Linked DNA regions of Homo sapiens: all the other regions are linked to region 3. Evidence: promoter capture Hi-C in human tissues and cell types (Jung and others, 2019). All regions are on one chromosome and are shown on one strand. The core of a region is centred on a gene start or on the middle of the fragment in contact, and the rest is flanking DNA. Distances in the headings are between cores, read along the strand shown. Region 1 overlaps RAPGEFL1 (Rap guanine nucleotide exchange factor like 1). Region 2 overlaps MED1 (mediator complex subunit 1). Region 3 holds the start of GSDMB (gasdermin B). Region 4 overlaps CDC6 (cell division cycle 6).

Region 1 (7,043 bases), core at 2,765-5,264, 280 kb after region 3:
GAGGGTAAAAGATGCTCAGGGAAACACAGGCCTCAGCTGCCTAGAGGACCCTCCCCCTGCCTTGCAGTGGGCTCGGGTAGAGCAGTATCAGGAGCTAGGGTTGTCTGCTGCCCACACTCCTGCTTTTTGGGATATCTAACTGCTAAGGAGGGAGTTGACATCCCCCTTCTGGCTCATGTGTCTGACACCAACAACATGGTCTCTGTCCCTCTCTCTTTGACTCTCCCTTTGTCCTCCCCATAGAGCTGGGGTGGGGTGGATCCCTATACCTGGGGCAGGCAGCCCCAAAGTGGGGGAGGGGGATGGCAGAGACTGTAAAGGCGCCACTGGACTCTGGCAAGGCCTTTATTACCTTTACTCCCCTCCCTCTCCCATCACCAGCCTCAAGGCCTGAGGGGTGCAGGGGCTCCTGGCAGCTACTGGGTGAGGTTTCCTGGCACAGACTCACCCTTCTTTCTGGCACCACCTCTTTCCCTTTTGAAGAGACAGCAACAGCCGTAGCAAAAGCAGCTGCTGCTCCTGCTATGAGGGTGTATATATTTTTTACCCAAAGCTCTGGAATTGTACATTTATTTTTTAAAACTCAAAGAGGGAAAGAGCCTTGTATCATATGTGAACATTGTATCATAGGTAATGTTGTACAGACCCTTTTATACAGTGATCTGTCTTGTTCCTGCAGCAAAAATCCTCTATGGACATAGGAGGTGCTGTGTCCCATGCCCTCTTGCCCTGACAGTGTCCCATGGGCCCCCTTCTGCTCCCTGCCCCCTCCCTGCTACTGCTGATGCACTCTCCTCTCCCTGCAGCCCCTGGCTTCCCAGCCTTCCTCCTGACCCCTTCCAACAGCCTTGGAACTCCAGCTGCCACCACCCTCTGGGTCGGACACTGGGACCCACTGGCCCAGTCTTGGCTGCTGCTTACCCCTAGCCTTGATGCCTGCCCAGGGACCCCCAGCCCCCTCCCGTTGCCCTGCAGCTTTAACAGAGTGAACCATGTGTATTGTACAGGCGCGGTTGTCATTGCAGAAACCGCTGGGTGGAGAAGAAGCCGATAAAGTCTATGAATCAACCTGCCTGTTGTTCTCCATTCTGTTTTCTTTGAGGCTGTGGAAGTGCTGAGGGAGGGGAGAGGGGATGGCCGCCCAGTGCTGTCAGGAGCAGGGCTGTTCTGGAGTGACTTTGAAAATGTGGGTGGCGGGGTACAGTGGCTCATGCTTGTAATCCCAGCACTTTGGGAGGCCGAGGCGGGCAGATCACCTGAGGGCGGGAGTTCGAGACCAGCCTGGCCAACATGGTGAAACCCTGTCTCTACTAAAAATACAAAAATTAGCCAGGTGTGGTGGTGCATGCCTGTAATCCCAGCTACTTGGGAGGCTGAGTCAGGAGAGTAGCTTGAACTCAGGAGGCGGAGGTTGCAAGGCGCAGTGGCTCTCCAGCCTGGGCAACAGAGCAAGACTCTGCCAAAAAAGAAAATGTGGATGAGAGGAAAAGATGCCAACCTCACAAGACATGTCACATAATGCCTGGAACTCAGAAGAGGGGATGGGATGTTTTCGTTCATACATGTTCCAGGTGGCATAAATATGAGATCACATTTAATTCTAATGCTAAGGTAGAAGATTGAGGCACAGCAGTCCCAGAATAATTACTAGTGAGGGCACTGGTCCCCTAACCCAGGTCTGTCCCCTGAAGACAGCATGTACTGTTCACACAACCAATATTTACCAGTTCTACTAAGTTTTGTTTTGTTTTGTTTTTTTTGAGACGGAGTCTTGCTCTGTTGCCCAGGCTGGAGTGCAGTGGCGTGATGTCTGCTCACTGCAAGCTCTGCCTCCCAGGTTCATGCCATTCTCCTGCCTCAGCCTCCCAAGTAGCTGGGACTACAGGTGCCCACCACCATGCCGGGCTAATTTTTTTTTTAATATTTTTAGTAGAGATGAGGTTTCACTGTGTTAGCCAGGATGGTCTGGATCTCCTGACCTCGTGATCTGCCCACCTCGGCCTCCCAAAGTGCTGGGATTACAGGCTTGAGCCACTGCGCCTGGCCCAATCCTACTAAGATTATAGGGTGCAGAGAGCCTAGCGTTAGGCTTAAATGATAGCCTGAGTTCCAGGAGACATCATACACTCAAATAGCTATACCTGGGCCCTTGATAATCCCCATTCACATCTGTTTCTGCCTCAGTCTTCTGCATCTCAGAAAAATGATCCTCTCATCCACCCAGGTTTTCTCTCTCTGTTGCCCAAGCTGGAGTGCAGTGGCGTAATCTTGGCTCACTGCAACCTCTGCCTCCCAGGTTCAAGTGATCCTCCTGCCTCAGCCTCCTGAGTAGCTGGGATTATAGGCAGAGGCCACCACACCCGGCTAATTTTTGTATTTTTAGTAGAGATGGGGTTTCACCATGTTGGTCAGGTTGGTCTCAAACTCCTGACCTCAAGTGATCCACCCACCTCAGTCTTCCAAAGTGCTGGGATTACAGCTGTGAGCCACTGCCCAGCCACCTACCCAAGTTTTCAAGGCAAAAATACAGGACTCACCATTGGTGCCTCTTTCTCCCACCCTTCATTCATCTCAGCCAGTCCCATCGGCTACAATTCCAGAGCATTTTCTGAGTGATCCACTTCTGTATGACTCCCCTATGACCATACTAGTCCAAACCACCTTCATAGCTTCCCTGCATGACTACTGCAGCCTCCTACCTGGTCTGTCAGCTTCCTCTCTTTGATCCACCCCTACCTGCCACCAGTTTGATTTCCACATGGCAGCCAGGGTGTTCTTTCAGAAACACCAATCACGCTGGGCATGGTGGCTCAAGCCCATAATCCTAGCACTTCGGGAGGCTGAGGCAGGAGGATCGCTTGAGCCCAGGAGTTCAAGACCAGCTTGGGCAACATAGTGAGACCCTGTCTCTACAAAAAATAAAAAATTAACGAGGCTGCAGTGAGCTGCGATAGCACCACTGTACTATAGCCTGAGCAACAGAGTGAGACCCTGTTTAAAAAAAAAAAAAAAAAGAAAGGAGAGCAAGGGAAGGAGGGAGGGAGGGACAGAGGGAGGGAGAGAGGGAGGGAGGAAGGAAAGAAGGAAGGAAGGAAGGAAGGAAAAAAACCCAGTGTCTTTCAACACATGAATGGACAAATGCATTGGGGCATATTCTTATGGTGGAATACTATATAGCAAGAAAAAAGAACAAATTATTAATACCCACGTGAATGAATCTCACAGACTTAATGTTGAATAAAGGAAGCCAGACACAGGCTGGGTATGTTGGCTCACACCTCTAATCCCAGCACTTTGGGGGCCTGAAGTAGGAGTGAGAGGTGAAGCTGGCTGGGCTTCTGGGTCAGGTGGGGACTTGGAGAAGTTTTCTGTCTAGCTAAAGGATTGTAAATGCACCAATCAGTGCTCTGTGTCTAGCTAATCAGGTAGGGGACTTGGAGAACTTTTCTGTCTAGCTAAAGGATTGTAAAAGCACCAATCAGCGCTGTGTGTCTAGCTAAAGGTTTGTAAATGCACCAATCAGTGCTCTGTGTCTAGCTAAAGGTTTGTAAATGCAGCAATCAGTGCTCTGTGTCTAGCTAAAGGTTTGTAAATGCACCAATCAGCACTCTGTAAAAACGAACCAATCAGCACTCTGTAAAACGGACTAATCAGCATTCTGTAAAATGGACCAATCAGCGCTCTGTAAAATGGACCAATCAGCAGGATGTGGGTGGGGCCAGGCCACCCGAGCCAGTAGCGGCAACCCACTGGGGTCCCCTTCCACGCTGTGGGAGCTTTGTTCTTTTGCTCTTTGCAATAAATCTTGCTGCTGCTCACTCTTTTGGTCCGCACTATATGAGCTGTAGCACTTACCACAAAGGTCTGCAGCTTCACTCTTGAAGCCAGCGAGACTACGAACCCACTGGGAGGAACAAACAACTCCAGAAGCGCCACCTTTAAGAGCTGTAACACTCACTGCTGAAGGTCTGTGGCTTCATTCCTGAAGTCAGGGAGAGGACGAACCCACCAGAAGGAAGAAACTGGACACATCTGAACACCTGAAGGAACAAACTCCGGACACACCATCTTTAAGAGCTAACACTCACCGTGAGGGTCTGTGGCATCATTCTTGAAGCTTCATTCTTGAAGTCAGCAAGACTAAGAACCCACTGGAAGGAACCAGTTCTGGACACAGGAGGATCTCTTAAGCCCAGGAGTTCAAGACCAGCCTGGCCAACATAGTGAGACCCCTATCTCTACAAAAAATAAAAAATGTAGCTGGGCATGGTGTGTCGCGCCTGTAATCCCAGCACTTTGGGAGGTTGAGGCAGGAGAATCCCTTGAGTCCAGGAGTTTGAGACCAGCTCAGGCAACATAGGGAGACCTTGTCTCTACAAAAAAATAAAAAAATAGGCCAGGTGCGGTGGCTCATGCCTGTAATCCCAGCATTTGGGAGGCCGAGGTGGGTGGATCACCTGAGGTCGGAAGTTTGAGACCAGCTGACCAGCATGGAGAAACTGTCTCCACTAAAAATACAAAATTAGCTGGGCGTGGTGGCACATGCCTGTAATCCCAGCTACTCGGGAGGCTGAGGCAGGAGAATCGCTTGAACCTGGGAGGCAGAGGTTGTGGTGAGCTGAGAGCGTGCCATTGCACTCCAGCCTGGGTAACAAGAGCAAAACTCCATCTCAAAAAAAAAAAAAAGGCTGGGCAGGGTGGCTCACGCCTGTAATCCCAACACTTTGGGAGGCTGAGACCTATGGATCACGAGGTCAGGAGTGCAAGACCAGCCTGGCCAAGATGGTGAAACACCATGTCTACTAAAAAATACAAAAGTGAGCTGGGCATGGTGGCAGGCACCTATGTAATCCCAGCTACTCAGAAGGCTGAGGCAGATAATTGCTTGAACCCGGGAGGCAGAGGTTGCAGTGAGCCGAGATCGTGCTACTGCACTCCAGCCTGGGCGACAGAGTGAGACTCCGTCTCAAAAAAAAAAAAAAAAAAAGCCATATATGGTGGTGCATTCCTGTAGTCTCAGCTACTTGGTAAGCTGGGGTGGGAGGATTGCTTGAGCCTGGGAGCTCAAGGCTGCAGTGAGCAGAGATCATGCCACTGTATTCCAGCATGGGCGAAAGAGGGAGACCGTGTCTCAAAAAAAGAAAAAAAAAAAGCCAAGCATAGTGGTGCATGTGTGTAGTCCCAGCTACTCAGGAGGCTGAGGTGGAAGGATTGTTTAAGCCCAGGAGTTCAAGGCTGCAGAGAGCTATGATTGCACCACTGTACTCCAGCCTGGGTGACAGAGTGAGACTCTTTCTCTTAAAAAAAAAAAAGAAAAAGAAAAAAAGGCCGGGCACGGTGGCTCACGCCTGTAATCCCAGCACTTTGGGAGGCCGAGGCGGGTGGATCACGAGGTTAGGAGAGTGAGACCATCTTGGCCAACATGGTGAAATCCTGTTTCTACTAAAATACAAAAAAATTAGCTGGGTGTGGTGGCGTGCGCCTGTAATCCCAGCTACTTGGGAGGCTGAGGCAGGGGAATCGCTTGAACCCGGGAGGGAGAGTTTGGAGTGAGCTGAGATTGCGCCACTGCACTCCAGCCCGGCGACAGCGACAGAACAAGACTCAGTCTAAAGAAAAAAAAGGCTGGGCGCGGTGGCTCACGCCTGTAATCCCAGCACTTTGGGAGGCGGAGGCGGGCGGATCACGAGGTCAGGAGATCGAGACCATCCTGGCTACCAGGGTGAAACCCCGTCTCTACTAAAAATACAAAAAAGTAGCCCGGCGTGGTGGTGGGCGCCTGTAGTCCCAGCTACTCCGGAGGCTGAGGCAGGAGAATGGCGTGAAACCGGGAGGGGGACCTTGCAGTGAGCCGAGATGGTGCCACTGCACTCCAGCCTGGACGACAGAGCGAGACTCCATCTCAAAAAAAAAAAAAAATTTAGGCCGGGCACGGTGGCTCACACCTGTAATCCCAGCACTTTGGGAGGCCAACGCGAGTGGATCACCTGAGATTGGGAGTTCAAGGCCAGCCTGACCAAGACGGAGAAACCCTGTCTCTACTAAAAACACAAAATTAACTGGGTATGGTGGCGCATGCCTGTAATCCCAGCTACTAGGGAGGCTGAGGCAGGAGAATCGCTTGAACCTGGGAGGCGGAGGTTGTGGTGAGCTGGGATGGCACCACTGCACTCCAGCCTGGGCAACAGAGCCAGACTCCATCTCAAAAAAAAAAAAAAAAAGTTCAAGAGCAGGCTAAATTAATCTACGGGGATAGAAGTAAAAATAGGCTGGGCACGGTGGCTCATGCCTGTAATCCCAGCACTTTGGGAGGCTGAGGCGGGCGAATCACGAGGACAGGAAATCGAGACCATCCTGGCTAACACGGTGAAACCCCGTCTCTACTAAAAACACAAAAAAAATTAGCCGGGTCTGGTGGCGGGCGCCTGTAGTCCCAGCAACTCGGGAGGCTGAAGCAGGAGAATGACGTGAACCCGGGAGGTGGAGCTTGCAGTGAGCCGAGATCATGCCACTGCACTCCAGCCTGGGCGACAGAACAAGACTCCGTCTCAAAAAAAAAAAAAAAAAAAGAAGTAAAAATAGTGCCTACTCAATAGGGTAGGGGAAAGTATTGACCGTGAAGGGGCATGAAGAAGCCCTGTGGGGCGATAGAAATGTTCCATATCGGCCAGGCGCGGTGGCTCTCGCCTGTAATCCCAGAACTCTGGGAGGTCGAGGTGCGGGAGGCTGAGGCAGGAGAATCACTTGAACCCGGGAGGTGGAGGTTGCAGTGAGCTGAGGTTGCACTGAGCTGAGATCGGGCCACTGCACTCCAGCCTGGGCAACAGAGTGAGGAATAAATAAATAAATAAATAAAAGAAATGTTCCATATCGTGACCTGGGGGTGGGTATACAAGTGTGTCTATCTGGCTTGTTGAGTTGGTCATGTAAAATTTGTTAAGTGTTACCGTAGCTACATTACACCATAAAGCAATTCAGATTCTGACAGTCCACTGTTTTTAATAACAGATTTAAAATAAAAAATTCTCCCTTCCTGGCCAGGC
Region 2 (7,103 bases), core at 1,067-3,566, 470 kb before region 3:
ACATACACATTATCCTAGTAGTAATATTGCAGGACAGTCTATAGACTCAATATAGTCTATAGATTTTGTAGACTATATAGAGTAACACTGGTCTACAAGTGTTACTCTGTCCATCCATGCAAAATCCATATATATGAGTGTAGAAAAAGGTATTCCTCAGCCAGGCACGTGGCTCATGCCTGTAATTCTAGCACACTGAGAGGCCAAAGCTGAATAATCACTTGAGTCCAGGAGTTCGAGACCAGCCAAGGCAAGATAGAGAGATCCTGTTTCTATTTAGTCAAAAACAAAAAAGAAAACGTTGTATTTCCACATCTAAAACAAAAAAACCTTTAGAGAAATATTAGGAAGAATCAAAATGTAATACATGAGATCTGCCGCCTGTGGAAGTGACCACATGCTAAGATATAAACAGTTAAATAAGATGGCTCAGGAGATTTGGTAGTGTACAAATTTAACAAGGTGATTTGCATGTAATCTGAGAAACACAACCAAATTTTAAGAAAATGAGATTGACTCTAAAAAACAGAACATATAGGCTGGGTGCGGTGGCTCACACCTGTAATCCCAGCACTTTGGGAGGTCAAGGCGGGTGGATCACGAGGTCAAGAGACTGAGACCATCCTGGCCAAAATGGTGAAACCCCGTCTCTACTAAAAATACAAAAATTATCTGGGCGTGGTGGTGCACGCCTATAGTCCCAGCTACTCAGCAGGCTGAGGCAGGAGAATCACTTGAACCCAGGAGGCGGAGGTTGCAGTGAGCCGAGATCACACCACTGCACTCCAGCCTGGCGACAGAGAGAGACTCTGTCTCAAAAAAAAAAAGAAAAAGAAAAGAAACAGAACATGTAGTCCAGAAAAGGGACTTCCAAAGAACAAAAACTTAGCCTAGTTTGAGGCCGGTTGCAGTGGCTCACGCCTGTAATCCCAGCACTTTGGGAGGCCAAGGCGAGCAGATCATGAGGTCAGGAGTTCGAGACCAGCCTGGCCAACATAGTGAAACCCCATCTCTACTAAAAATACAAAAATTAGCCAGGTGTGGTGGTACGCGCCTGTAGTCCCAGCTACTCAGGAGGCTGAGGCAGGAGAATCGCTTGACCCGGGGATGCAGAGGTTGCAGTGAGCCAAGACCACACCATTGCACTCCAACCTTGGTGACAGAGTGAGACTCCATCTCAAACAAAACAAAACAAACAAACAAACAAAAAAAAACTTAGCCTAGTTTTCCTAACCCTATCCAGTGAAGAAGTTTCTCTCTGAAAAACATTCCAGTCCCTAAAAACGTGAACAGTTTTCTGGTATAAGGATAGTTTTCCAGGCTTTTCCATGTTGCAAATAAATCTATCTCACTGCTCTAATTCTCCCTTACAAAACAAAGTAATTTATTAATAATCTGAAATCTCTTGATTCTTGACAGGAGAAGAGGTGCTCTGGTCAATGAATACCAGTATTATGAAAACTGGAAAACTAAATGTTTTGTCATAAATTAATAAATAAGCATACAGTATGTCAGTTGTTGAAAACTCTTTTTTTTTTTTTGAGATGGAGTCTCGCTCCGATGCCCAGACTGGAGTGCAGTAGCATGATCTTGGCTCACTGCAACCTCCACCTCCCGGGTTCAAGCGGTTCTGCTGTCTCAGCCTCCCGAGTAGCTGGGACTACAGGCGCCTGCCACTATGCCCAGCTAATTTTGTCTTTTTAGTAGAGACAGGGTTTTACCTTGTTGGTCAGCCTGGTCTCGAACTCCTGACCTCAGGTGATCGACCCGCCTCAGCCTCCCAAAGTGCTGGGATTACAGATGTGAACCACCACGCCCAGCCATGAAAACTCTATAAAATCTTGATGTACCAATAAAATTAGGTTTCTGAATCTGCAAAACTGAAAAGTAGACAAGCAAAGTCATGGTGACCAAACCAAGAGAGTGGTACCCAAAGAGAGGGCCTTATTAGCCACCTGGAATCCTTCTATCTCACAATGTCTCTCTAATGACAGTATCATTTACAGAACATATTTCAAGCTAGAATTTGGTTGCCTTAAGGAATAAAAATGACAACCTGGGCCAGGCACAGGGGCTCACACCCGTAATCACAGCACTTTGGGAGGCTGAGGCAGGTGGATCACAAGGTCAGGAGTTCAAGACCAGCCTGGCTAACATGGTGAAACCCCATCTCTACTAAAAATACAAAAATTAACTGGGCATGGTGGCGGATGCCTGTAATACCAGCTACTCAGGAGGCTGGGGCAGGAGAATCGCTTGAACCCAGGAGGCGGAGGATGCAGTGAGCCAAGATCCCACCACTGCACTCCAGCCTAGGTGACAGACAGAGATTCCATCTTTAAAAAAAAAAAAAAAAAATGAATCCGCCAGGCACGGTGGCTCACACTGTAATCCTAACACTTTGGGAGGCCAAAGTGGGTGGATCACTTGAGCCCACAAGTTTGAGACCAGCCTGAGCCACAGAGTAAAAACCTATTTCTGGCTAAGCGCAGTGGCTACGCCTGTAATCCCAGCACTTTGAGAGGCCGAGACGGGTGGATCACGAGGTCAGGAGATCGAGACCATCCTGGCTAACACGGTGAAACCCCGTCTCTACTAAAAATACAAAAAGTTAGCCGGGAATAGTGGCAGGGGCCTGTAGTCCCAGCTACTCGGGAGGCTGAGGCAGGAGAACGGCATGAACCCGGGAGGCAAAGCTTGCAGTGAGCCGAGATCGCACCACTGCACTCCAGCCTGGGTGACAAAGCGACACTCCATCTCAAAAAAAAAAAAAAAAAAACGATTTCTACAAAAAATATAAAAAACTAGCTGGGCAGCCGGGCACAGTGGCTCACGCCTGTAATCCCAGCACTTTGGGAGGCAGATCACGAGGTCAGGAGATGGAGACCATCCTGACCAACATGGTGAAACCCCATCTCTACTAAAATACAAAAAATTAGCCAGGCGTGGTGGCGTGTGCCTGTAGTCCCGGCTACTCGGGAGGCTGACGCAGGGGAATCTCTTGAACCTAAGAGGCAGAGGTTGCAGTGAGCCGAGATCGCACCATTGCACTCCAGCCTGGCCACAGAGCAAGACTCCATCTCAAAGAAAAAAAAAAAAAAACTAGCTGGACATGGTTACATGCACCTGTTGTTCCAGATACTAGGAGGCTGAGGTGGGAGAACCACCTGAGCCTGGGAAGTTGAAGCTGCAGTGAGCCATGATCGCGCCACTGCACTTGAGCCTGGATGATAAGACCTGGTCTCAAAAAAAAGAATGAATCAAAAATTCTACTAGTACAGGCTGGGCATACCTAATCTGAAAATCAAAAATCTGAAATGCTCCCAAATCCAAAACCTTTTTAGCATTCCCAATGATGCCACCAAGGATTTCACACCTGACCTCACATAACAGGGTCATAGTCAAAATGCAGTCAAAACGGCTGGACGCGGTGGCTCACGCCTGTAATCCCAGCACTTTGGGAGGCGAAGGCAGGTGGATCACCTGAGGTCTGGAGGTCAAGACCAGCCTGACCAACATGGAGAAACCCCGTCTCTACAAATAATATAAAAATTAGCTGGGCGTGGTGGCGCATGCCTGTAATCCCAGCTATTCGGGAGGCTGAGGCAGAAGAATCACTTGAACCTGGGAGGCAGAGGTTGCAGTGAGCCGAGATCGGGCTATTACAACCCAGCCTGGGCAACAAGAGTGAAACTCCGTCTCAATAAAAAAAAAAAACAAAAAAAAACTTAGTTTCACACACAAAAGTATTAAATATATTATTAAATATGTTGTATAAAATTACCTTCAGGCTATATCTATAAGGTGTTTATGAAACATAAATAAATTATGTGTTTAGACTTGGGTCCCATCCCCAAGATATCTCATTATATATTTGCAAATATTCCAAAATCCAAAACAATCCAAAATCTAAAACACTTCCGGTCCCAAGCATTTCATATAAGGGATATTCAACCTGTAGTATAGATACAATAGACTCCTAAAGTTGAAACCACCATGTATTCAGATGTTTTATGAAGATAGTATGAACACATCTACATGGGGAGCTTAGCGTATTAAGAATAATTATCTAAGCAAAACACTTTACCCACTTCACCACAATCCTTACCATGACTTGACGCACAAGCTTAATGGTTTCACTCCAGGGTCTATTTTGGTTAAATTTTGCATGGAGCCGTTCCAGGAGAGAACTCATCTTACTCAGCTTTTCTGACTCTATGATTTAAATCAGAAAACGTTATCAGTAACTGTTCTATCAAGACCATCCACAGTTTTCCTTGCAAAATAAATTCCCACACTTCATCACAGTAAGAATTCAGTTAAAATATTTTCCAAAATCATTTTACTTCAAAACATCCAAAGAAGACATTTTTAATGGCAAGATGACACACAAGTTATGGGTCTGATGTAAGGAATACCATACCACTGGACTGTTATCTATCCACCTTTTTTTTTTTTTTTTTAAAGACTAAGTTTCACTCTTGATGACCAGGCTGGAGTGTCAAACCCTGTCTCTACCGAAAATACAAAATTAGCCAGATGTGGTGGTGCATGCCTGTAATCCCAGCTACTTGGGAGGCTAAGGGAGGAGAATTGCTTGAATCCAGGAGGCAGAGGTTGCAGTGAGCCGAGATCACACTATTGCACTCCAGCATGGGCAACAGAGCGAAACACTGTCTCAAAAAAAAAAAGAAAGAAAAAAATTAGCCAAGCCTCCTGGCATGTGCCTGTAGTCAGTCCCCAGCTACTCTGGAGGCTGAGGCAGAAGGATCACCTCAGCCTGGGAGGTCGAAGCTTCAGTGATGAGCCTTGATCACACCACTTACTCCATCCTAGGCAACAGAGGGAGACATTGTGTCAAAAAAAAAAAAAAAAAAGTTATTGAACTGGGCTAGAGAGGAAAATTTAAAAAAAAGAAAAAAAATAAATGAAAATGCTGGCTGGGCGGAGTGGCTCACGCCTGTAATCCCAGCACTTTGGGAGGCCAAGGCGGGTGGATCACCTGAGGTTGGGAATTCGAGACCAGCCTGACCAACACGGAGAAACCCCATCTCTACTAAAAATACAAAATTAGCCGGGCTTGGTGGTACATGCCTGTAATCCCAGCTACTCGGAAGGCTGAGGCAGGAGAATCACTTGAACCCAGGAGGCGGAGGTTGCAGTGAGCCCAGATTGCGCCACTGCACTCCAACCTGGGCAACAAGAGCAAAACTCTGTCTCAAATAAATAAATAAATAAATGAAAATGCTAAAAAGACAGCAATGAACAAACTAGACAAAAACTCCTACTTCATGAAGTTTCCATTTTTACACTTGTTGTCTCCTTGCACCCAAGGAGTACATCTTTCTTTTCTTTTTTTTTTTTAAGACAGAGTATCACTCTGTAGCCCCAGCTTGAGTGCACTGGCACAATCAAGGCCTATTGCAGCCTCAACCTCCCATGCTCCAGGATCAAGTGATCCTCCCAGCTCAGCCTTCAGAGTAGCTGAGACTATAGCTAATTTTCCCTTGAAACAGGGTCTCGCTCTGTCGCCCAGGTTACAGTGCAGTGGCATGATTCTGGCTCACTGGAGCCTTGACCTACAGGATTCAGGTAATCCTCCCACCTCAGCCTCCCAAGTAGCTGGGACTACTGGCTTGTGCCACCATGCCTAGCTAATTTTTGTATCTGTTGTAGAGACAGGCTTTTGCCAGGTTGTCTAGGCTGGTCTCCAACTTGTGGGCTCAAGTGATTCGCCCGCTTCGGCCTCCCAAGGTGCTGGGATTACAGCCTTGAGCCACTACCTGGAGCTAATTTTTTATTTTATTTATTTTCAATTTTTTTTCTTTTTTTTTTTTTTTGAGACGGAGTTTTGCTCTTGTTGCCCAGACTGGAGTCCAGTGGCACTATCTTGGCTCACTGCAACCTCCACCTCCCGGGTTTGGGTGATTCTCCTGCCTCAGCCTACCAAGTAGCTGGGATTGCAGGCATGCCACTGTGCCTGGCTAATTTTGTATTTTTAGTAGAGAAAGGGTTTCACCATGTTAGCCAGTCTGGTCTTGAACTCCTAACCTCAGGTGATCCGCCCACCTCAGCCTCCCAAAGTGCTGGGATTACAGGAGTGAGCCACCACACCCGGCCTTTTTTTTTTTTTTTTTTTTTTGAGACGAAGTTTCGCTCTTGTAGCCCAGGTAGGAATGCAATGGCGCAGTCTTGGCTCACCACAACCTCCACCTCCTGGGTTGAAGCAATCCTCCCACCTCAGCCTCCCAGGTAGCTGGGATTACAGGCATTCACCACCACGCCCGGCTAATTTTGTATTTCTAGTAGAGACGGGTTTTCTCCATGTTGGTCAGGCTGGTCTCGATCTCCCAACCTCAGGTGATCCACCCGCCTCAACCTCCCAAAGTGCTGGGATTACACGCGTGAGCCACAGTGCCCGGCAATTTTTTTATTTTTTTTGTAGAGACAGGGCCTCAGTATGTTGCCCAGGCTGGTCGCGAACTCCTGGGCTCCAGGGATCCTCCAGCCGCAGCCTCCCAAAGCGCTGGGATTACAGGTGTGAGTCACTGCTCCCGGCCTCACCTTTCGACCTCTGCTCCAAAACACACTCTTTGTTTTTCTTGAGAAACCTGCTGATAAATATCTGTACTTCGATGCTCCAACACTTTTTGAGCGACTATTACGTGCCAGAAACTATACAAAAATAATCAGGCAAGGACTCTAATCTGCAAAGCTCAGAGGAAACTGGAGAAGATAAACAATAACACAGTTCACTGTATCAACAGAACTATGCCCAAAATGCTAAGGCAGCATCTTAGCCGGAGTGTGGAACTTTAGAAAATCTTAGTAAAGTTCCACAGAAAAGTTGTTTTTCTGCAGTTCGTAGTTCGGTCAATAAAAGAACGAAATTCAGCGCACTTTAAAAATACACAATGGCACAGGATCTGAACACTTGACATTGTAGAGAACTGCTGGCTGCTAATAAATATAAGGACCTAATCATTTCATTGATGCCAAAATAGTCTCCAGTACGTTTACACACAGCCCTAAATTTATTCAGGCGTCTCTTCTGGAACGAGATGTAAGCTGATTTTGTATTCATTTGCCCCGTCTCCCACCAC
Region 3 (7,013 bases), core at 4,377-6,876:
AGGCATGAGAATCGCTTGAACCCAGGAGGCGGAGGTTGCAGTGAGCTGAGATCACACCACTGCACTCCAGCCTGGAGGAGAGTGACACTCTGCCTCTCTGCCTCAAAACAAAACAAAACAAAACAAGAAAAAGAAAAGGAAAGGAAAAGAAAAGAAATGAAGAAATTAAATATAATGATGTAGTTAAGCACTTAACCAAGTGCCTGGCATACATTCTAACTGCTTAATAATTGTAAGCCAGTCTTGTAGGCTGAAACAAGACAAAGAAAAGTAAAGCTAAAGAAGTAGGAGCCCCAGCCAATTGGGAAATAAAAATTAAGCAGTTCTGGGTGGGCACGGTGGGGTGGCTCACGCCTGTAATCCCAGCACTTTGGGAGGCTGAGGTGGGTAGATCACTTGAGGTCAGGAGTTGGAGACCAACCTGGCCAACATGGTGAAACCCCATCTCTACCAAATTAGTCGGGGGTGGTGGCACATGCCTGTAATTCCAGCTACTTGGGAGGCCGAGGCAGGAGAATCGCTTGAACCTGGGAGGCAGAAGCAAAGACTGCAGTGAGCCAAGATCAAGCCACTGCACTCCAGCCTGGGCGACAGCGAGACTCCATCTCCAATAAAAGCAGTTCTGTCGCTGTTGTTTGTATGAACCACACAAGTATGAAGTGAGGCAACCCTGGAAAGTCACAAACACGCATGGACTCGGCCCTGATTGATCAGGCACTAATAAGGGCCTTGGTTCTGAGTCAGTTGCCACCCCAGGTTCGTGGAGGATGTGTGGGCATGCCGAAGGGGCTGCGTGCCTTTGTCTCCAACCTCCCAGATGGGAACCTACAGGGGAGGGAGAGCTCCCACTGCTAGGTTTTGGAGGCAGGGCTGGATTTCCAAAGACAAATCCATTTTGGAACTGGTGGAAATGTGACAGAATTAGAAACAGTGACTGAAATCACTATTTGTGTGTACATGAGACACTAATGTCTTAGGGACCATTTGCTTCTTGAGCAGTGTAAAAGAAAAGAAAAATATCAGAGAGAAAAAGAAAAATAAAAACTATGTGCACAAAGAGTACTATATGAAGAAGAGGAAAAAGAGTAACTTCTGGTAGAGAAACCTGACAAACATTACCTCAGCCAAGTGATCAAGGTCAACATCAACAGTGATAGGTCATGTTGACAGTACGTACCCCTGATGTGATGTAATAGGAATGGTCCTTTACCTCTGTGGTCTTCCTCCCCGAGACCCAGAACCCAGTCTAACCATGAGAAAAAACATCAGCCAAATTCCAACAGAGGGACGTTCTACAGTATCCCTGACCAGTACTGCTCAAAACTGCTAAGATTATCCCAAACAGGTAAAGTCTGAGAAACTGTCACAGCCAAGAGGAGCCTAAGGAGACATGACAACGAAATGTAATGTAGGATCCTGGATGGGATTCTGGAATAGAAAAAGGACACTAGGTCAAAACTAAGATAACATGGGCTGGGTGCAGCGGCTCACACCTGTAATCCCAGCACTTTGGGAGGCCAAGGCGGGCGGATCACCTGAGGTCAGGAGTTCAAGACCAGCCTGGCCAACATGGTGAAACCTTGTCTCTACTAAAAATACAAAAAATTTGCCAGGTGTGGTGGCAGGCACCTATAATCCCAGCTACTCGGGAGGCTGAGGCAGGAGAACCACTTGAACCTAGAGGTGAAGGTTGCAGTGAGCCGAGATCGCGCCACTGCTCTCCAGCCTGGGCAATAGAGCGACACTCCATCTCAAAAAAAAAAAAAAAAAAGTTAATGTGAATAAAGTATGGACTTTAATAACAAACACAAAATCCTATGCACACTTTTTTTTTTGTTTTTTTTTGAGACGGAGTCTTGCTTTGTCGCCAGGCTGGAGTGCAGTGGTATAATCATGGCTCACTGTGCAACCTCCACCTCCCAGGTTCAAGCAATTCTCCTGCCTCAGCCTCCCGAGTAGCTGGGATTACAGGCATGCGACACCACGCCCAGCTAATTTTTGTATTTTTAGTAAAGACAGGGTTTTGCCATGTTGGCCAGGCTGGTCTCGAACTCCTGGCCTCAAGTGATCCGCCCGCCTCAGCCTCCCAAAGTGCTGGGATTACAGGCATGCGCCATCATGCCCAGCTAATTTTTGTATTTTTAGTAGAGACAGGGTTTCGCCATGTTGGCCAGGCCAGACTTGAACTCCTGACCTCAAGTGATCCACCCGCCTCAGTCTCCCAAAGTGCTGGGATTACAGGCGCGAGCCACTGTGCCCAGCCCTATGCACACTTTAACTGCACCATCAGCATTATACAGTTACAAAATAACCCATTTAAATAGGGAGCAGACCAAGCTAAAAATCAATTCAAATTACCAATTCCCATCATTGTAAGGATTTTCTTTTTAAGTTTGGTTTCACCTCTGCCTCCGAATTTTGTATGCACACAGATGAGCTTTTCCTTAAAGGAAGTTGACTGACTTAGTCAATTTTTTTTTCCCAGACTTAAACTTTGCCCTGTCCCTGGGGAGTAATATTATTGTGGCAAAACATCCTAGTTCTGGGTTAAAGTATTTTTCCATTTTCAGTGAATTGATCATTTGGCAAACTGATTTTTTTTTTTTTTTTTGAGAGCTGACTTTTAGCAAATTGGCTCTTAGCAATTTACTTTTCAGAGAATTGACTCAGTCTTTGAAAGATGCGAATCTGAAATTTCTCCAAAAGCCCCTTGCTTGCTTAACGAAACTCTGCTTGTGGAAAGGTCCACCACCTCCAAGTAATCTGGGTACTGCTCTTGGTCACTTAAAGCAGTTCCTGGCACACTGTAATACTCTAAAGCTGCTCAGGGCTGTTAGAGCTCTTTTCCGTCTCTTGGCATGAGACCTCATAAAAAGAAATGGACTGTATCAGAGAGGTCTGAGCTATGAGCGCCTTGCTATTGTTCATATTATGAAATATTTTTTCACATTATGAAATATAATGAACTCCTCACCATATTCCACTTTGGGCTCCAAGTGAGAGTTCAACACTTAACCCTGGGGCTTCTGAAACCCAAGTACCCCAGGAATAACTGAGATCAGAGGCAGGGGGTTGGAATAATTGACTCTTCCATAAATTCCCTCAATACCTTAGGGATTTCTGCTCATCAGAAACTTCCCCTTCAGTCTTGATAGCCAAGGAACATGAAAGGATAATAAGAATCACCACCGACCTGGGAGATAACTTTTATTGGGTGCTCCTTTTGTGGCAGGCACTGTGATAAATGATTCACGTAATTTGTTCTCATTTGATTTTTTTTTTTTTTTTTTTTGAGACAGAGGCTTGCTTTGTCTCCCAGGCTGGAGTGCAGTGGCGTGATCTCAGCTCACGGCAACCTGCACCTCCCGGGTTCAAGCAATTCTCTTGCCTCAGCCTCCTGAGTAGCCAGGACTACAGGCGCATGCCACCACGCCTGGCTAATTTTTTGTATTTTTTTTTTTTAAGCAGAGACGGGGTTTCACTGTGTTAGCCAGGATGGTCTCGATCTCCTGACCTCGTGATCCGCCCACCTCGGCCTCCCAAAGTGCTGGGATTACAGGAGTGAGCCACCGCACCCATCCCTCACTTGATTCTTACAACAGTCCTCTAGAGTTGACACAGGAGGAAACTGAAACTTAGAGCAATAAAACAACTTGTCCAAAGGTTACGCAGCTGATAAGAGGCAGAGCCAGGCTTTGAAACCAGGTGCTTCCAGCCCTAAAGCCTGCATCCTTTCTTAACCAGTAAGCAAACTGCCCTCATTTACTTATTCATTTAAATGATAAACACATGAGAAGAGCTCGCTAAATTAAAAGCAGATTATTTTACAAGGGAAAAAATGGAAAAGGAAGACCATTTAGGAACGGTTTCCAGTGGAAATAAATCTCCACTTCTCCCACTCTCCTCCCACCATGCAGCTCTTCCGTGCATTTCTTAAATTAAGGTGTGTGGATGTGTACAAATCCCACAGTTTCGTTGTTGATTGGTTGATAACAATGGGGAATTGAGAAGGAGATGGAGTACAAACGGTCAAGGCCTCCTGGCTGGCCACCTGTCATCTACCTTATACTGACCTTGGAGCCCAGAATCCAGTTCATCTAACCACTTGTCCCCATCTGTGTCCAGAATGTCCATCAGGGTGAGGCCTGTTGTGTAGTGCCGGCATCCAAAGAAAGTTCTCTTCTCCCCCACCAGATGGAAGCAGCGGAATCTATCAGCATCAACAAGGCTTCTAACGGCAATCATATCCCCTCCAGCATCCATCTCCTTAACTACAATTCTTGTGATTTCCTCAAATACGCTGAACATTGCGCCTGGACCAACTCAGAAACAGAAGCCAATTTCAGTTTTTGGGAGGAGGGTATTGGTTCAAGTATTTAAATCTTCCACATTTGGCAGCCTGAGGTGTCAGGCCTCTGAACCCAAGCTAAGCCATCATATTCCCTGTGACCTGCATGTATACATCCAGATGGCCTGAAGCAACTGAAGATCCACAAAAGAAATGAAAATAGCCTTAACTGATGACATTCCACCATTGTGATTTGTTCCTGCCCCACCCTGATACAATATAGTCTCCCCGCCGCCGCCCTTAAGAAGGTACTTTGTAATATTCTCCCCTGCCCTTAAGAAGGTACTTTGTAATATTTCTCCACCCTTGAGAATGTACTTTGTAAGCCTATCCCAAACATATAAGAACTAATGATAATGCCACCACCCTTTGCTGACCCCTTTTTTGGACTCAGCTTGCCTGCACCCAGCCTTGTTGCTCATATAAAGCCCGTTTCGTGGACTCTCTTCACATGGACGCACGTGACATGAGGTCAAGGAAGAGCCAAAGGTTCCAGGACAATCAGTACCTGGAATGATTTGCCTGCCTTACTTCTAGAACGTGAGGCAGCCATGACTCAGTAAAGAGGGCTAAACATCACAGATCCCAGATTCTCCTCTGCCCCTCATGGTACCCATCTGGAGGAAAAAAGTAGCAGCTATTGCCCCAAATAGAGAAAGTGAGACCCATTTTCTACATCTCCCACAGCAGAGTTGCCCCCTTGTTCCAAGGGGCCCAAGGGATGGAAAGGCAGGCCCACCATGCCCCAGCCAGACTAGCCCCAACGTTGATGAACAGAGGAACCAGGGAGGAATGACGGGCACGGTTGCCAGACTTCACATTACTAACCTCAACTGGTCGTTTCTTCCCTTGGCTCTGATTCTTGGGCTCCCTGCCTTGCTGTATTCTGCAAGGCAATTGGATGGGTGCCTCCCTACCAACAATTTCCCAATGAGGTGGTGGTAAATTGGCCTCAGAAGAAACAAAAGCTTCCTGGGATCCACTTCCCCATCCTACCTTTGGCCACCTTCCCCTATATCCCTTCTGCCCAGCACAGGCACTTATCCACTCACTGCTTCCTCCTCTGTCTCTGGCCCCATCATGGTGGTTGACTCTCAGTTCACTACCAACCTGGGAATTCTAGGTGTCTGGAAAGACAGTACCCGGGAACCACAGGCCCATCTCAAGTGGTACCCACCTCCTCTCTGACCTCAGCTGTTCACCAGAAATGGAAGTTGTGAGAATCCCCACAGATCTCTGCACAGTTCCTGGCCTCTGAATCTCAGGAAGCTAAAATAATGAAACTGAAAGTTGTCCAGGTGTGGAACTTCCTGGACGGGTGGGTAGGGCTGGGTGCCCCACCTCCCAAGCCTTTAGATAAGCCACCTTATAACTGAGCTGGAGGCAGATTAAGGCCAGAACCCCCCTTTTTTTTTTTTTTTTGAGACGGAGTCTTGCTCTATCGCCGAGGCTGGAGTGCAATGGCGCAATCTCGGCTCACTGCAAGCTCCGCCTCCCAAGTTCACGCCATTCTCCTGCCTCAGCCTCCCGAGTAGCTGGGACTACAGGTGCCTGCCACCACGCCCAGCTAATTTTTTTGTGTGTGTTTTTTAGTAGAGACGGGGTTTCACCGTGTTAGCCAGGATGGTCTCAATCTCCTGACCTTGTGACCCACCCACCTCGGCCTCTCAAAGTGCTGGGATTACAGGTGTGAGCCACCATGCCCGGCCAGAACCCCTTCTTCTTCTTGTACCTAAGGAGTGGGTAGGAGATCCTGGTATGTATTCTAGGTGAGTGTGGGCCAGACAATGGTGCACACCGTGGCGCCCTGGGCCATGCAATCCAGTGTGTTTGGAATAGAGAAATGGAATATGAGTAGGTATCAAGTGCCAGCAGGCAATGGCTGTGTCTGTGCCAGGGACATGAGGACCATAACCCAGCAGAACCAGCTGCCCAAATGCCATGCGACGGTCAACACTGAAGACCCAGGACAACAGCAGCTAACACCTGGAGGCAACAGGGTGGGCCTGTAAGGAGCACTCAGCCTCCCTCCCCATCTCGTGCTCCCGTGTACACTCTCAAGGAGATGCTGGTCTTCCTTATCTGGATGCCATCTGGCTTCTCCACCTACCTCCTTCTCCAGGGAGAGGCCTCTGACCTCACCCATGTCCTCTCTCAGAGATAACCACCCCGGTGAGCCCAGCCTGTCTTCCAGCCTCTGCATGCCTCAGTTCTGAAAGAACATTTGAAGGGATGACAGGCCAGGCGTGGTGGTTCATGCCTGTAATCCCAACACTTTCAGAGGCCGAAGCAGGCAGATCACTTGAGGCCAGGAGTTCAAGACCAGCCTGGCCAACATGGCGAAACCCCGTCTCTACCAAAAAAAAAAAAAAAAAAAAAATTAGCCAGATGTTTTGGCACACACCTGTAATCCCAGCTACTCAGGAGGCTGAGGCATGAGAATTGCTTGAACCTGGGAGGCGGAGGTTGCAGTGAGCCAAGATGGTGCCACTGCACTCCAGCCTGGGCAACAGAGCAAGACTCAGTCTCAAAAAAATAAATAAATAAATAAATAAATAGACGACAGTGGTGGTAGTAACAATTACAATTATAATAATATGGCTACCATATATTGAGTATTTACTATATGCCAGGCACTGTGCTAATGCTCACAACAGCCCTAAGA
Region 4 (6,331 bases), core at 2,341-4,840, 380 kb after region 3:
TTATGTTGCCCAGGCTGGTCTCAAACTCCTGGGATAAAGTGATTCTCCTGCCTCAGCCTCCCACAGCTTTGGAATTACAGGCATGAGCCACCATACCAGGTTGAGATTGGCTTTCAAGGGCTCCAGAAAGCTATAGGGAGAATGACTTTAACTAAATATAAGAAGAAAATTTATAATAACTAGAACTAACTGGGCTTCCTTGAAACATAGTGGGTTCTCCAGCATTGAAGATATTCAGACAAAAGCTGGATAGATGCCACTTGTTGAGATTGTTCTAGAGAGGACTCGGCCAGTGGATAGGGAGTAAAAATAGACTTCTAAATTCCTTTCAATTTTAAGATTCTTTTACTTGATCTGTGATCTCCGGTTTCTCCATTAGTCCTCTGCAGCATCCCTTTGTGGTAATGTAATATTATAGAAGTAAATTGTTGTGGGGCAACTGCAAGTGATTTCAGGAAGTAACTTCAGGTAAAGGTTGTTACAGAACACATTTCTTTGTCTTGGAATTCATGCATCTCCAAACGATAAGGCCATAGTCTTTTTTTTTTTTTTTTTTTTTTTTTTTTGAGACAGGGTCTCGCTCTGTCACCAGGCTGGAGTGCAGTGGCGTGATCTTGGCTCAATGCAACCTCCTCCTCCCAGGCTCAAGCCATCCTCCCACCCCAGCCTCCTGAGTAGCTGGGACCACAGGCACACACCACCACACCCGGCTGTTTTTTTTGTATTTTTAGTAGCGATGGGGGAAACCCATCGCCTTGTTGCACAGGCTGGTCATGAATTCCTGAGCTCAAGCCATTAGTTATTTTTCCTGATCCTCTCCCTCCACCCTCCTATAGGCCCCAGTGTGTGTTGTCCCCACTATGTGTCTATGTGTTCTCATCATTTAGCTCCCACTTAGAAGTGAGAACATGTGGTATTTGGTTTTCTGTTCCTACAGTAGTTTGCTAAGGATATAGTCTTATGAAGCTTATTGGCAGTTTCCCAACCCCTGGCTTTTATTAAGATGATGATATCTGGCCAGGCATGGTGGCTTACGCCCATAATCCCAGTGCTTTGGGAGGCCGAGGAGGGCAGATTGCTTTGAGCTAAGGAGTTCAAGACCAGCCTGGGCAACATGATGAAACCCCATCTCTACAAAAAATACCAAAAAGAAAAAAAAAAAAAAAAAGATGGTGCTATCTGCTAGCATATCCAATGACATTTTCTCAAGTGTTGCTCTACTGCTAATCAGCTTGGGCAAGTGAACCAAACCTCAAAGGTCATTTGGGGAAGCCATCTGAAGGGCTGACATGGCAGCGACTTCACTCTCCACATTTAGCCACTCATTTGATCCAAAATATTCGGTAATTTTCCAACTTTTTTTTCCCTTTCTTTTTTTTTTATATGGAGTTTCACTCTTGTCGTCCAGGCTGGAGTGCAGTGGCACAATCTTGGCTCACTGCACCTCTGCCTCCCGGGTTCAAGTGATTCTTCTGCCTCAACCTCCCAAGTAGCTGGGATTACAGGCGCCTGCCACCACATCCAGCTAATTTTTTGTATTTTTAGTAGAGATGGAGTTTCGCCGTGTTGGGCAGGCTGGTCTCCAACTCCTGACCTCAGGTGATCTGCCCGCCTTGATCTCCCAAAGTGCTGGGATTACAGGCGTGAGCCACTGCACCTGGCCTTTTTTTTCCTTTCTTAATTACCAAGCACAGTCACCATCTTTGCTTCAAGGTTCTGTTATTCTATACCTCTGAGATACTAGGAACTAGCCTGGCATGGTGGCACGTACCTGTAATCCTAGCTACACAGGAGGCTGAGGCAGGAGGATCACTTGAACCCAGGAAGCCAAGGCTGCAGTGAGCCATGATAGTGCCACTGTACTCCAGCCTGAGTGACAGAGATCCTGTCCCAAAAAAAAATACAGTAGTTCTCTGGTCCTTTCATGAGGTGGGTTTTGTTCCTCTGACATTAAATTACATTCCATAGGACAAAACAGCTCACTATTTGGCCCAGAGAAAGGGTAACCCTACTTTTCAAGTCATCCCACATTATTTTGACATCCTTAAGAGAATAGCATTATCTCTCATCCTTTGGCCTCTGGTTAGAGATTTAAAACCTCTGCTTTGCCACCATGTGACTATACTTGAATTTCCTTTAGCTCAAACTTAGTATCATCTGTCTCATCATACATACACACACACAGTATTTTAGAAATCGAATTAAGCTTGGCTTATTTACTTTATAGGTAAATCACCTTCTGAGCCTCTGATTCCCAAGAGGGTTGGTCTTATTCACATATCCCAAGTCATCTCAGAAGTTGATGGTAACAGGATGACCTTGAGCCAAGAAGGAGCACAAGATTCCTTCCCTCTTCAGCAGAAGATCTTGGTTTGCTCTTTGATGCTCTTGATCAGGCAGTTGAAAATCAAAGAGGTCACTCTGGGGAAGGTAAGTTGGGATGGAGCAGATGGAACGGAGGTAGAGATCAGAATCTGCTTTGCAGAGCAGGTATTTTCCAAAAGGCCTATGATACTTCAGCTGATAATAAATTTAAAATGGATTTTAACAGTAAGAATTAATACTGGTACTATATAAAAGGCACCTATTTCCCTTGGATTGTGGTTGAGAGTTTATCATTAATCCTTTCCCTATCCTCCCCTTCATTTCTGCATCTCTCTAGGAAATATATAAAGCCCCTTTCCTACATTACTGTATAGGTTTTCGGGAATATCTACAGAAGCCTGTTCAAAGATTTTATTGAAAAGAGGAAGAAATAGGGTATTCAGATAAGTTTTTGCAAACCCAGACTCAGGTTTCTTAAATGATTAAAGGCTATAAGCAATGTGACTTTTAAGCAGCGTTTGTTCTCCCTTGTTTCCTACCAGTTATATGAAGCCTACAGTAAAGTCTGTCGCAAACAGCAGGTGGCGGCTGTGGACCAGTCAGAGTGTTTGTCACTTTCAGGGCTCTTGGAAGCCAGGGGCATTTTAGGATTAAAGAGAAACAAGGAAACCCGTTTGACAAAGGTACAACTGCTTTTTTGTGACAGTGTTTTTAATTGTCCTATTTTGTAGAGTGATGCTAAAGTAAAGGTTTATTGTTAAACAAGATGACCACAGTTAGTTAAACAAGTCGTTTTTTGTTAGGTAAGGTTTAAGGTGTGTAAAGATGGGAGTGTGATATGAATATTTTTTCAAGCCATTGGAAAAAAAAGTGTTTAACTTGCTTGCCTTTTGTGAGAAAAAGTTTAATATGGTAGAAGTTTGTATACTGACAACTTTGCTTTTGTGAGTTCCCCAGTGTGAAAAATCCTTTTCTCTTCTTTCCAGGTGTTTTTCAAGATTGAAGAGAAAGAAATAGAACATGCTCTGAAAGATAAAGCTTTAATTGGAAATATCTTAGCTACTGGATTGCCTTAAATTCTTCTCTTACACCCCACCCGAAAGTATTCAGCTGGCATTTAGAGAGCTACAGTCTTCATTTTAGTGCTTTACACATTCGGGCCTGAAAACAAATATGACCTTTTTTACTTGAAGCCAATGAATTTTAATCTATAGATTCTTTAATATTAGCACAGAATAATATCTTTGGGTCTTACTATTTTTACCCATAAAAGTGACCAGGTAGACCCTTTTTAATTACATTCACTACTTCTACCACTTGTGTATCTCTAGCCAATGTGCTTGCAAGTGTACAGATCTGTGTAGAGGAATGTGTGTATATTTACCTCTTCGTTTGCTCAAACATGAGTGGGTATTTTTTTGTTTGTTTTTTTTGTTGTTGTTGTTTTTGAGGCGCGTCTCACCCTGTTGCCCAGGCTGGAGTGCAATGGCGCGTTCTCTGCTCACTACAGCACCCGCTTCCCAGGTTGAAGTGATTCTCTTGCCTCAGCCTCCCGAGTAGCTGGGATTACAGGTGCCCACCACCGCGCCCAGCTAATTTTTTAATTTTTAGTAGAGACAGGGTTTTACCATGTTGGCCAGGCTGGTCTTGAACTCCTGACCCTCAAGTGATCTGCCCACCTTGGCCTCCCTAAGTGCTGGGATTATAGGCGTGAGCCACCATGCTCAGCCATTAAGGTATTTTGTTAAGAACTTTAAGTTTAGGGTAAGAAGAATGAAAATGATCCAGAAAAATGCAAGCAAGTCCACATGGAGATTTGGAGGACACTGGTTAAAGAATTTATTTCTTTGTATAGTATACTATGTTCATGGTGCAGATACTACAACATTGTGGCATTTTAGACTCGTTGAGTTTCTTGGGCACTCCCAAGGGCGTTGGGGTCATAAGGAGACTATAACTCTACAGATTGTGAATATATTTATTTTCAAGTTGCATTCTTTGTCTTTTTAAGCAATCAGATTTCAAGAGAGCTCAAGCTTTCAGAAGTCAATGTGAAAATTCCTTCCTAGGCTGTCCCACAGTCTTTGCTGCCCTTAGATGAAGCCACTTGTTTCAAGATGACTACTTTGGGGTTGGGTTTTCATCTAAACACATTTTTCCAGTCTTATTAGATAAATTAGTCCATATGGTTGGTTAATCAAGAGCCTTCTGGGTTTGGTTTGGTGGCATTAAATGGCAATTTGTGACTGAGACACCAGAGGGCACCCTTATAACATTGACTACTTTGAAAGGGGATGCTTGAGGCTGAGGTAGTTTTGAGGGAAAGGGGGAAGTTCTAGTTTGATTTGTTTGGGAGATTGCTGTCCTTTCATAACTGAAGCAAATGCTTGAAATGTAAACCATGTGTGATACGAATGATCTGAGAGCCAGTGACCAAGTCTGCTTTTCCCTGAGCTCTCCTGCTGCCGCCTCTACCTTTCTGACATGGCCTTCCATTTGGAACTTGATATGTGTACAAGTGATCTGTTGGCCACTGTTTCATTCATCCTGACCACTGTATCCGTGTAATGTGATCTGAGCTACAACAGGTGGTATGGGATAGAGGCAAGGAAAGCAGAGAGAGCCCTCTGAAATGAACACTACCCACTGGTGTGTGTAGCACATGATAGTCTGTAGGCATGAGTCTGAATGTTGTTCTCACACTCCTTTACTAGAGTATTCGTTCCCTCTGAAGGTAGTTTGAACATGGAAACACAGTTCTATACCTAGAAGGTTGGAAAGTGTCTGGGACTATAAGGGTTAACATGCATAATTGCAAAGATTGTCCGAAGGCTGATGGAAAGCAGAGACTGAATGGGATTGAGAACAGATGCGAAGCTTGATTTAAATTACATTTTATTGGATGCTGCAGCCTTAAGAGACGTGACTGCTTTACAGTTTGTTTCCACACTGTGGGCAGCTGCTGTCTGTTCTGTGTCCACAGTAGGATCCTGCCCAATAAGGAGCAGCCTCCCCACCTCATTGTGTTTGAGGCTTGGCGCCTTCCTCTTAACTGTAGGGCTTGAGTCAGGAACATGGCTTGACTCGCAGTGGGGCTGCTATGTATCCTCCCTGGCTTCCAGCCAAAATCACATTGGTAGATTCAAAGGGGCCAAATTTCTTTCCCCTCTATCTTTCCCTTTCCCCTGGTTTTGGAAATAGAGTTTTCTGTCTACTGATTTGTTAGTTTCCTTTTCTTCTCCCCTCACTGTCAATTTCTAGGTCATTGCTGCTCTTAAGACTTTAGCAGTTGGAACAGGGTTGGTTCTGTCAATGATGCATGAAGCAGACTTAGTGTCCCTGCTTGGCTTCTGCTGCCCTTGTGGGAGCAAAAGCTGATATATGTTTGTCAGTAAAGTCTTAAGTGTAATTCAGACTGCTGAGGAAGAAAGCCCTTTCCTTGCTGGCTTTTCTCCCTGAAGCTGAGAGCTTCAGGAAGGTGGTAGGAGTTTTAGTGGGATGGGATGGGATGGGCTTGTGGTTAGCAGTTTTTGCCAGGATCATAGGCTGCTTCACTTAGAGTAGTGGCAAAGATGCTGACCTACATTCTTCCTTTTGAAGGTGATGGAGTGTGTGTCTATATCCTGGTTTATCTCTCTCCCCCACCCCAAGGAAGCTGATTAAGCTTCCATAGAGTGTTGGGTGTTGCCATGGAAAGAGCATAGACAAAATAAATTGTGTGTTTCAACCCCAGAGCTGCCACAGATGTTTCTGGCTCAATGGAGACTTGCCTGTGGCTAGCTAACTCTGCAAGAATGTGTGAGGTCCAGGCTGGGGGTGGTGGCTCACGCCTGTAATCCAGCACTTTGGGAGGCCGAGGCGGGCGGATCACCTGAGGTCAGGAGTTTGAGACCAGTCTGGCCAACATGGCGAAACCCTGTCTCTACTAAAATAAATTAGCCAGGCATTGTGGTGTGTTCCTGTAATTCCAGCTACTGGGAGGCTGAGGCAGGAGAATCGCTTCAAC

Evidence for each region. Contacts are between HindIII fragments. The study calls those that stand out against the background at their distance.
Region 1: a fragment that was not itself captured here is called in contact with the fragment with the promoter of GSDMB in region 3 in 1 of the 25 tissues and cell types used here (spleen).
Region 2: a contact is called between a fragment that was not itself captured here and the fragment with the promoter of GSDMB in region 3, in 1 of the 25 tissues and cell types used here (dorsolateral prefrontal cortex).
Region 4: a fragment that was not itself captured here is called in contact with the fragment with the promoter of GSDMB in region 3 in 1 of the 25 tissues and cell types used here (spleen).

The regions. Positions count from the first base shown.
Region 1 is chr17:40,194,583-40,201,625 of GRCh38, forward strand. RAPGEFL1 (Rap guanine nucleotide exchange factor like 1) reads left to right here. Exons shown (of 15, transcript NM_016339.6): 15 at 1-1,068. Among named protein-coding and RNA genes, the nearest start is that of MIR6867, 4.5 kb to the left of the region's middle. RefSeq lists enhancers at 1-361, 1-35. The HindIII fragment of the contact is 6,151 bases long and covers 940-7,043 here.
Region 2 is chr17:39,443,690-39,450,792 of GRCh38, forward strand. MED1 (mediator complex subunit 1) reads right to left here. Exons shown (of 17, transcript NM_004774.4): 2 at 4,109-4,215. Among named protein-coding and RNA genes, the nearest start is that of MED1, 4.0 kb to the right of the region's middle. The HindIII fragment of the contact is 4,288 bases long and covers 173-4,460 here.
Region 3 is chr17:39,913,009-39,920,021 of GRCh38, forward strand. GSDMB (gasdermin B) reads right to left here and starts at 5,627. Exons shown (of 11, transcript NM_001165958.2): 1 at 5,526-5,627; 2 at 4,074-4,322. The coding sequence starts at 4,308. RefSeq lists an enhancer at 3,186-3,675, promoters at 4,227-4,856, 4,407-4,815, 5,539-5,901 and a cis regulatory region at 5,880-5,893. The HindIII fragment of the contact is 12,682 bases long and covers 1-7,013 here.
Region 4 is chr17:40,298,601-40,304,931 of GRCh38, forward strand. It overlaps CDC6 (cell division cycle 6), which reads left to right. Exons shown (of 12, transcript NM_001254.4): 10 at 2,228-2,430; 11 at 2,868-3,008; 12 at 3,312-6,057. The coding sequence ends at 3,401. Among named protein-coding and RNA genes, the nearest start is that of RARA, 7.4 kb to the right of the region's middle. The HindIII fragment of the contact is 4,009 bases long and covers 1,587-5,595 here.